Regions from separate parts of the Homo sapiens genome. Here region 2 is linked to region 1. The links are contacts of gene promoters, found by promoter capture Hi-C in human tissues and cell types (Jung and others, 2019). All regions are on one chromosome and are shown on one strand. Each heading gives the region's core, a stretch centred on a gene start or on the middle of the fragment in contact. The rest is flanking DNA. Distances are from core to core; before and after follow the strand shown.

Region 1 (5,315 bases), core at 823-3,322:
ATGGGGTCGTGGCCAGGCAGAGGGGCTCCTCACTTCCCAGTAGGGGCGGCCGGGCAGAGGCGCCCCTCACCTCCCGGACGGAGAGGCTGGCCGGGCGGGGGGCTGACCCCCCCCCACCTCCCTCCCGGACGGGGCGGCTGGCCGGGCAGAGGGGCTCCTCAATTCCCAGTAGGGGTGGCCAGGCAGAGGCGCCCCTCGCCTCCCGGACGGGGCGGCTGGCCGGGCGGGGGACTGACCCCCCCACCTCCCTCCCGAACGGGGCGGCTGGCCGGGCGGGGGGCTGACCCCCCCACCTCCCTCCCGGACGGGGCGGCTGGCCTGGCGGGGGTGACCCCCACCTCCCTCCCGGATGGGGTGGCTGCCGGGCGGAGACGCTCCTCACTTCCCAGACGGGGTGGCTGCCGGACGGAGGGGCTCCTCACTTCTCAGACGGGGCGGCTGCCGGGCGGAGGGGCTCCTCACTTCTCAGACGGGGCGGTTGCCAGGCAGAGGGTCTCACTTCTCAGACGGGGCGGCCGGGCAGAGACGCTCCTCACCTCCCAGACGGGGTCGCGGCCAGGCAGAGGCGTTCCTCACATCCCAGACGGGGCGGCGGGGCAGAGGCGCTCCCCACATCCCAGACGATGGGCGGCCTGGCAGAGACGCTCCTCACTTTCCAGACTGGGCAGCCAGGCAGAGGGGCTCCTCACATCCCAGACGATGGGCGGCCAGGCAGAGAAGCTCCTCACTTCCCAGATGGGGTGGCGGCGGGGCAGAGGCTGCAATCTCGGCTCTTTGGGGGGCCAAAGCAGGCGGCTGGGAGGAGGTTGTAGCGAGCCGAGATCACGCCACTGCACTCCAGCCTGGGCACCATTGAGCACTGAGTGAACAAGACTCCGTCTGCAATCCCGGCACCTCGGGAGGCCGAGGCTGGCGGACCACTCGCGGTTAGGAGCTGGAGACCAGCCCGGCCAACACAGCGAAACCCTGTGTTTGGTGGAGACCAAAAAAATACGAAAACCAGTCAGGCGTGGCGGCGCGCGCCTGCAATCGCAGGCACTCGGCAGGCTGAGGCAGGAGAATCAGGCAGGGAGGTTGCAGTGAGCCGAGAGGGCAGCAGTACAGTCCAGCTTTGGCTCGGCATCAGAGGGAGACCGTGGAAAGAGAGGGAGAGGGAGACCGTGGGGAGAGCATATATCCTTATTATTAAACTATGCATGACTGTGTATACAATACCTTTATAGGTCAAAAGCAGTCAAATACTGGCCATGAGATACACTTAGTCCAAGTACACAAATAATTGCAGAAGGAGAAAGTGAAACTCCTCTTACTTCCTGCCCCACTCATTTATCACAAAGCACACAGAAGTCAGAATAACACCTGCCCTTTGCAATTTCAGACTCCTCTCTTTCTGCCTCTCCAAACCTGTCCCACGTTTGGCGATTCCTTTCCCTTCGACCTCCCCCCATCAGGTCGCAGGTTCCTGGTCTACACCCCTTCTGCGTCCCCAACCACTTCTGAGTCTCACAACCTCTGGTCCCATAACCCCTCTGCACTAAGGAGCAATAAACAAAATTCACGCCCGAACAAAGAGGCCAAAACAGCAACCCAGGATGTTTGCGCCTGCGCACTCTGGGCGCACAGTACTCAGGCCGGCAGCCCAGCACCGGCTTATCTGTGAGAGCAATTAAGATGACTTTCGGAGGGTCCAACCGCCTTCCCAGCTCCGAACTACATCTCCCAGAAGGCTCAGTTGTGCGATTATCTTTCCATGCAGACTTGTCCTCTTTCTGAGGCTGTCCAGCGCCTGGGGGCAGTAGGACGGGTCCGGGAACTAAGCCCATCTCAAACACGTCGGAGTGGCTTTCTTTGGGGGCCAAGGCCCGAGCCTGAGGCGGGACTCCATGAGGCCTCTGGGGCGCGAGCGGTTTGACTAGGGGGGGCGATCCTTTCGGCGGGGCTGACGCAAGGCGCGGACAGGAATTCTGACGATCGGGAACCATCTTGTCCGGCCTTGATACGTCTCTGACTACGCTTCCCAGAGGTCTCCTCGGCAAGACTGTACTTCTCGCGGTAATTCAGCTTCCAACTCACGCGCTGGCGGGACCCTCAGGGCTTTACCAGCAACTACCCCAGTGCCGGGGAGGGTTCTGCTGCTTCGAAAGCTGGTAAGGCCTGAGGTGAGAAACCCGGGAGAGGGCGGGGCCGGGGGCCAAGCCTCGGCTTTGTGCGGCGGTGGAGGTGAGATTGAAAGCGTGCGCTTGCGTCTGTGTGGAGGTGTGTGGTGAATGATCGCGCGATTGTGACAGGCTGCCCTTGTGATGAGTGTGTTTCCAACGCTCACACCGTGTGCAGCACGGCCTCGGAGACTGTGGCTGCTGGTGTGTGTGTGAGAGGGAGCAGGACCACGTGCGGCATTGTGTGTGCGGCTGTGGGGAGCTTGTGCCTGGTTGAGTGTTACTGCGTTTGTCCCCGTAGTGGTGTGCGACTATATGCTGTGTGACTGTGTGCGGCAGAGTTCAGGTGGGGATACCTGCGAGTAACTGCATGTTTCTATCTGTGTGTGTGGCTGTGGTTAATGTGTGATCGTGACTGTGACCCGGTACAGGTGTGCGCCGACTGTGACAATGTGGTTGTGACTGTGACTGCCTCCTCGGTAAGCGTGCACTTGTGCTTATGTGACCGATAGAGGCCCTGCGTGTGCGACCCTGTTGCTTTGGGCGTGGATTGTCTGTAGCTGAATGTCCCCATGGTGGGAGTGTGATCAGGTTTGTGTGGCAGGGTAAGTCACACAGTGTGAGGTTTTATCACTTACGTATACTTCTCTAGGCATTATACTCCAGTTTTTCCCCGTTTTAAAACTTTATATGAATGTTGTCATACTGTCTTTGGTTTATTTTTACAATTCTGTGAATCATCCCTATTAGATAAAATCGCGGTTAATTCAATTTCTTTGCTATATTCTCCCTTCTGAAGTATACCACAATTATTCATCCTTTCTAGTAATGATGCCCTATTAGTTATTTATAGCTTTTCATTTTATAAACAACACAGCCACATTCTTTCACATGGGGTACACATGCTTGAGTTTATTTACCAGCAGAATTGCCGGTTCATATATCTTCCACTTTACTAAACAGTGTCAAAATATATACCCGAGTGGCTGCACAAATTTGTACTTGAACAGCAATGTTTGAAATATCTTATTGCTCCATATCCCTACCAAAGCATAGTTCCAAGAGTTAAAAAAATTTTTGTAGGCCAAGTGTGGAGGCTCATGCGTGTAATCCCAGCACTTTGCCAGGCCAAGGTGAGAGGATCACTTGAGGCCAGGAGCTGGAGACCAGCCTGGGCAACATAGTGAGACCCTAACTCTACCATAAATACATACATACATAAAAAATTAGCCGGGCATGGTGGCTGGCACCTATAAGTCCTAGCTACTCAGGAGGTTGAGATGAGAGGATCGCTTGAGCCCAGTGCTTTGCAGCTGCAGGAAGCCATGATCATACCACTGCCCTTCAGCCTGGGCAACAGAGCAGGAGGCTGTCAATAGATACATAGAGCCTATATAAAGTGTGCAAATCTTAAGTGTACAGCTGTGTAACACTCTTAGATCTATACAAAGAACTTTGCCAGGACCTGAGATGCTTCCCTCATACCACTTCTCAGTAATTTCTCCCCCACACAATCTATTCAGAATTCTATCATTAACTAGTTTTACCCATTCTTTTTTTTTTTTTTTTTTTTTTTTTTGAGACAGAGTCTTGCTCTTGTCACCCAGGCTGGAGTGCAGTGATGCAATCTTGGCTCACTGCAACCTCCGCCTCCTGGGTTCAAACGATTCTCCTGCCTCAGCCTCCTGAGTAGCTGGGATTACAGGCACCCATCACACCCGGCTAATTTTTGTATTTTTAGTAGAGACAGGGTTTCCCCATGTTGGCAAAGCTAGTCCTGACCTCAGGTGATCCGCCCACCTTGGCCTCCCAAAGTGCTGGGATTACAGGCATGAGCCAGTGCATCTGGCTGTCTTACACATTCTTGAACTTCATGTATATATGCAATTATGCAGCATGTACTGTTTTATGCCAGGCTTCTTTTGTTATATATTATGTTTGTGAAATTCATTCATGTTGTTCAGTGTAATTGTACTTAGCTCTCACTATACTGGGGATATATTGTAGTATATTAGTCGATTACATTGTTGATGGATATTTGGGTAGCTTCCAATTTGGGGCTGTTACAAATGATGCTGCAGCTGTGAACACTCTGCTGTGTTTTTGGTGAACACATGAAGGCTTTTCTCCCGGGTTAATACTTAGGAGTGGCATTGCTAGATCATAGGGTAGGCTAATGTTTAATAGATACTACGAAGCTCTCATGTGGTTGTTCCAGTTTACACTCCATCCAGCAATGTATGAGAGTTCCAGTTGCTTCATATCCTCTCCGTAATTTGGTATGGTTAGTCTTTTAACTATTTTATTGGTTGTGTGGTGCAGTTTCATCATAGGTTTTTGTTTTGGTTTGTTTTGTCTTGTTTTGGTTTGTTTTTTTTTTTTTTTTTGAGACGGAGTCTCGCTCTGTGGCCCAGGCGGGAGTGCAGTGGCGCAATCTCGGCTCACTGCAAGCTCCGCCTCCCGGGTTCACGCCATTCTCCTGCCTCAGCCTCCCGAGTAGCTGGGATTACAGGTGCGTGCCACCACACCCAGCTAATTTTTGTATTTTTAGTGGAGACAGAGTTTCACCATGTGAAACTCCCGCCCGCCTCAGCCTCCCAAAATCCTGGGATTATAAGTGTGAGCCACTGCACCCAGCCTCATCATAGTTTTAATTTGTATTTCCTTGATGTGAAATGATGTTCAGCACCTTTTTGTATGTTTACTGGCCATTTGTATATCTTCTTTTTTGTGTCCATTTTCCCCTTCGTAAATTTTTTAAAAATGTTCTTTTCTTTCTTTCTTTCATTTTTTTTTTTTTTTTTTGAGACAGAGTTTCGCTCTTGCTGCCCAGGCTGGAGTGCAATGGCATGATCTCAGCTCACTGCAACCTCCACCTCCCAGGTTCAAGCAATCCTCCTGCCTCAGCCTCCCATGTAGCCAGGATTACAGGCTTGCGCCACCACGGCCAGCTAATTTTGTATTTTTAGTAGACACAGGGTTTCACAATATTGGTCAGGCTGGTCTCAAACTCCTGATCTCAGGTGATCCAACTGCCTTGTCCTCCCAAAGTGCTGGGATTACAGGTGTGAGCCACTATGCCTGGCCTAAAATTTTATTTTCATGTTGTGAACATAGTATAAGGAATTTGCAGATACTCTGCAGGTGCCCACAGTGCAA
Region 2 (5,271 bases), core at 2,772-5,271, 390 kb after region 1:
GGTTGACTGGAGGCGGGGTCACCTGGGCTTCTATGCACTCTGGCTTCCAGTAGGATTTGGACAATGGGGTGCCCTGCAGGAGGGGAGTAAGGTCAGGGTGTTGATTCTCACTCCGTCCTGTGTGGGAGTCAGGGCTGCAGCTCCCTCAGCACTACCCTCTCCCTGGGATTTGCTCTTTTGGGTTCTTGTTCCTTCTCTTTGTGCCTTGTGGCCTGGGGGTGGTAACAGCTCCCAGGGTGCCAGTCCTGGGGTTCTGCACCAGCCTCGGTGGTTTCCCAGTCCCTGCTGCTCCTTTGCAAATGATCCCTTGGTTAAACTCTTTGGAATATCCCATCTAAGCATGCTGTCATCTTTCTGCTGGGACCCTGTCAGCTCACAAACCACATGCACACATGCTGCACCACCAGCAGTGGCTTCTTAACCAGGTGGTTTATCCTGGTTAAGAAGTATGGAGAAAGTATGGTCCTTCCAGGACAGAGCCTGGCATTTGGAAGAGGGAAGTGGCAGACATGCTGGATCCTCTCTGATTACCAGCCCACTTGCCTTTCTTATTGAGAGAACCTCTTTGTTTGAGCTGCAACATGCCCAGGACAGGAGAGATGGTCCAAGCACATCAAAGCAATCTCCATTCCTGTTGCCTGGGACTCATCTGACCCCAGATGAGTCTCCCAGGGAGACCCCTGGGAGAGATCTGCATCTTTTCTGCTGCCCTAGAGGGTGCCCTGCTCTGTGCCTTTGCTCCTGGTTGGACCAGGCCACCCAGCAGCTGGGACCAATAACTTGGGCCTCTGACCCTCATGTCATTGTGCACCTGGCCTCTTCCTCTCCTGCTGTCACCCTCTGTGAGCCCCCTGCACTCCACATCTAACCTCAGCCTCCCCATAGCAGTACTATCGGGGCAGCTTCTAGCTCCTGCGCTTCCAGGCTTATGCCAGGCACTTCAGTCAGGGCTGCAGGAAAGCCAACAATTGCAAAATGGAGACACCACCTGAGGGTGTGCTGCTGGGTGCCACAGCAGCCGTGTTGCAACCATGAGGCCATAAGCTGGAGACTGAAGCTTGCTCACAGAGGATAACAGAGCAGGAGAGGAAGAGGCCAGGTGCATGATGACATCAAGGGTAACCAACGTCCCTCCATCTTGGGCCCTGAAAGCCAGGTGTTTACTCCTTGGAGCAGAAGACTTTACTATGATACAGGTTGGAAGGAAGGGTAATTCCATGCATGACAGAGGCCCAAGGTGGTCTCCTGGGTGTCCGAGGCCTGGGGGGCTGAACACCAAGCTTTGCCCAGGGATGTTGGGCAAGGTTTTGGGCAATGGTGGCCGAACTAGGCAGATGGGCCTAGGCCTAGGCAGGTGGTTCAAGTTCTGGACCACCTGGACTCCCTGAGGCAGAGTCGTGAGAAATAAGCAACACTGGATATCCCCCAAACATTAAGAGCAGAGATTTAGAAACAAACCCAAAAACAAAAAACTGTTCTGGATATTCCTTGGACTTAAATGTTATGAAGCAACAAGGCCCTGCTCCTCCTTGCACCTCAGCTCCTGCCCTCCCCTTGCTCACTCCATTCCAGCCGTCCGGGCTTCGCTCCTCTTGCTTCCACACAGATCACGTGTGGCTGCCCCAGGCCTGTGCACTGGCTGTGCTGTCGGCCTGGATGTGTTCCTGAGATGTCCTCTATCAAGCTTCAGCCCAAATGTCACCTCGAAAGGCCTTCCCTGACCCTTCACCAGCAATGGATCTCCCCAACCTATCTAGAATTATACAGAGCTCTAATTCCTGCATCTGTTTGACTGTATAGAAGGTGAGTGGCCATGAGGGCAGGTGCGTTGCCTGATGTTCCTTCTGCTACAGTGCCCGGCACCTGGGTGGGAACTGGCAGGATTTTTTTTTTTTTTTTTTTTGAGACTTGCTGTGTCACCCAGGCTGAAGTACAATGATGGTGTGATCTCAGCTCACTGAAACCTCTGCCTCCTGGGTTTGAGCGATTCTCCTGCCTCAACCTCCTGAGTAGCTGGGACTACAGGTGTGCACCACCACACCCCAGCCAAGAGTGGCTTTTTTAGCAGACACCCCATGTGGCCAGATGCCTGCTGTCTGGGGGAGCTGGTAGCAGTGCTGGGAGCTCGTGGAATGTAGAACTTCTGAAGGGGAAGCAGTTATTGGTCCCAGCTGCTCGTGGCCTGGGCCTGCTGCCAGGATCATACAGTGGGCAAGCCTGCCTGGGTTTCTTGTTTTATTTTGTTTTATTTAAAGAGACGGGGTTTTGGCCAGGTGCGGTGGCTCATGCCTGTAATCCCAGCACTTTGGGAGGCCGAGGTGGGCGGATCTCCCAAGGTCAGGAGTTTGAGACCAGCCTGGCCAACATGGCAAAACCCCGTCTCTACTAAAAATACAAAAATCAGCTGAGTATGGTGGTGGGTGCCTGTAATCCCAGCTACTCGGGAGGCTGAGGCAGGAGAATCGCTTGAACCCGGGAGGCGGAGGTTGCAGTGAGCCAAGATCGCACCACTGCACTCTAGCCTGGATGACACAGCAAGATTCCATCTCAAAAACAAAAATAAATAAATAAATACATGAAATAAAGAGATGGGGTTTCACCAAGTTGCCCAGGCTGGTCTCAAACTCCTGGCCTCAAGCGATCCTCCCACCTCAGCCTCCTGAGTAGCCGGGATTATAGGTGCAGGCCACCATACCCAGCTTGGGCAAGCCTGTTCATGGGTCCTCAGTTTCCCCTGTTGCAGATGGGGACACCACCACCGTGGACTTTGTGGGATCTAGTGTGGCCTTGGCCCAGAGGCCCTGAGCCATGATATGGCAAAGCGTGGACTGCTGGGCAAGGTAGGCACATGGTGATCACAGCAGCCCCAGTGAGTTCTCAGGCACTGGCAGGGGGCAGGTAAGAGGGTCTGGCTCCTCCCTGGGGCACAAATGGGCCCCACTGGGTAAGCACCTCACACTGGTCTGTGGCAGCTCTGTGGGCAGTGTGGGAGGACTGGCCCTGAGGTCATGGCTGCAGTTCCTGAACTTCTTGGGAGCGCTGGTCCCATGCTCTCCACTGACAGACACGAGTCCTCTGGGCATCACCTTCTACCCTCCCTCCCCACTTCCACTTGAAGAGGGCTTTGTGGATAGGCCCAAACAGACACCAGGAACCATTCCTCAAAGCTGTCAGTTTATTCGCTTAAAATACCTAAGTCCTCAGAAGCAGCAGGGCTGCGGTGGAGGGGCTGCGCCCTCAGTGCCCCCGTGCCTTCCTCCGCACGGCCTGCACCAGCAGCTCCGAGTAGTGTTCCAGCAGGGCCTGCAGGTCTGGGCTGGCCAGGGGGTACAGCGTCGGTGGGGACGGGGGTCCTGGGCTGGGCAGAGCCTGGGCTGGGGCCACACTAGTCCCCACCAGGCATTCAGCCTCCAGCTGGCTGTGGATCCACAGGAAGGTGGAGACCAGCTCAGTCCGTGCCTGCTGCTGCCCGGTGTCCACCTGGCCACTGGAGACCAACTGCAAGGGATGCCAGCCTTGTCAGGGGCCACCAAGGCCGGGCGGTCTCAAGAGACCCCTCAACCCTTTCCCAACTCTGGGGCTTAGCTCACCACACGGTAAAGGTCGAGGGCTTCTTGGAAGGTGGTCTGCAGCCTGTGCAAGATGTTCCCCACCCTGCTCAGCTCAAGGGGAGATGGGGGCAGGGCTTCAACCGGCACCCAGGGCTCACTCCAGCGGGCAGGGCTGCCCTGTAACAGACCAAGTGCACCTGGGGTAGAGAGAAGGGAATGAGCAAGATGAGCTGCATTCCATTGGTGTGAGCGGCCAGAGCGACTGGGTGGACTCCATGCTGTACTTCTGTCTGGAACACTTCTCTGGGTCCCCAAGGCTCCCTCCCCTTCACTCCTACAGGTCTCTGCTCCAATGCAGCCTCCTCCCTGAAGCCTCTTCTTATCTTCTGGTTTGTAATCCCAACCCCTGTCCCCACCCTGCACTCCCTCGCCCTCCTCTGTCCCTCCTAAGCATGTGTCACTTCGTGATACATATGACGGGTTCCTTAAAGGTTTAGTCTGGGCATTGTCCCCATTGAAGCTGTCAGTTCTCTGTGTTGTTTACCACCATGTCCCATGTCCCAGGGTTTAGCACAAAGCCCAACATGTAATGCTCATTAAATATTTAAGTTAATGCACGAATGAATGAATGGCACAGTCCCTGTGGCCAGGTCAAGTATCCATCTTTGGAGCTGAGCCAACTAGCACACAGGATGAGCTTAGGGGACAGTCCTTGCTCCAGGGCTGTACTCACCGGAGGTGGGCTCCAGGAGGGAGGCAGTGCCGCCAGGGATGCCAGGCCGGGCCTCTGGAAGCTGGGGGTTACTGGGGTGGGCAGGAAGGCCAGGGGACTCAGGAGCTGGGAGACTTGGGCGAAAGGCAGAGCCGTGGAGCCTCAGGGCGCTCTCTTCCACAGGGCTAGGGGCTGGGAAGCTCACTGCAGGGACGGTGACGCCAGGCTGGGTATCCACGGGGGGCTGCAGGAGCCCATCACAGGCACTTGACAGGGTCAGTCTCAGGTTGGCCCGGGCCTCGTGGTTGCCCCAGGAACGCAGGGCAGGCTCTTGGCCCTCACTGTCCAAACTGGGTGTTGTCGCGGTGGTGATGGCCTGAAGCTCCTGGCCCAAGGAGGCCAGCTCCCCAACGGACGATGGCCTACGGAGGGGCTGGGCCAGTGTGGCCACGATAGGGCCCTCACTGTCACCGAGGGAGATGCTGCGTGATATCCTGGCACGGGAGCTGGCAGTGGCCTCCATGTAGGAACAGGTGGAGGGGGCATGGACACCCTGAGCCAGGCCTGGGGTGGGTGCAGATGTGGGCGTTGGGAGATTCCTGTCTGTGGGCAGCACGGAGGAAGCAGGGACACAGGACGCCAGGCTCGTAAGGCAGGGAGCTGTAACGGAAGCAGATGGCACTGACTCCACCACACAGAACTGATGGCTAGGGCCCCCACGCCCCACAGCTAGGCTGGACATCCGGCCACTCGCCGAGAAACCCAGGACTGTCCGTCTGGGACTGGGGCACTCACGTGGTGGGCGCCAGGCCTCCAGGGTCTCTTCAGCCTTCCCTGCAGCGAGGACCTGCAGGCACAGCTCTGAGGTGAGGACAAGGCCTCAGGGTTCCCAGCCCCGTGCCCTGACGGAGGTGGGCCCAATACTCACGTGGGTCCTGTCTGGGGAGGCGTAGCCAGTACCTGCTCTGGGCTGGCTTCCGCCTCGGTCCATGAGCTTGACCTCTGGAG

What was found. The method cuts DNA at HindIII sites, captures the fragments that hold promoters and counts their contacts. A contact is called where the count stands out against the background at its distance.
Region 2: a contact is called between a fragment that was not itself captured here and the fragment with the promoter of ZNF566 in region 1, in 1 of the 25 tissues and cell types used here (small bowel).

What each region holds. Positions count from the first base shown.
Region 1 is chr19:36,486,318-36,491,632 of GRCh38, reverse strand. ZNF566 (zinc finger protein 566) reads left to right here and starts at 2,072. Exons shown (of 5, transcript NM_001145344.1): 1 at 2,072-2,147. ZNF566-AS1 (ZNF566 antisense RNA 1) reads right to left here and starts at 2,006. Exons shown (of 1, transcript NR_036504.1): 1 at 593-2,006. RefSeq lists enhancers at 1,203-2,088, 1,583-2,142, 2,703-2,782, 2,089-2,976. The HindIII fragment of the contact is 11,175 bases long and covers 1-5,315 here.
Region 2 is chr19:36,102,995-36,108,265 of GRCh38, reverse strand. WDR62 (WD repeat domain 62) reads right to left here. Exons shown (of 32, transcript NM_001083961.2): 28 at 5,192-5,271; 29 at 5,059-5,110; 30 at 4,285-4,923; 31 at 3,591-3,748; 32 at 3,158-3,498. The coding sequence ends at 3,238. Among named protein-coding and RNA genes, the nearest start is that of OVOL3, 5.5 kb to the left of the region's middle. The HindIII fragment of the contact is 5,077 bases long and covers 1,483-5,271 here.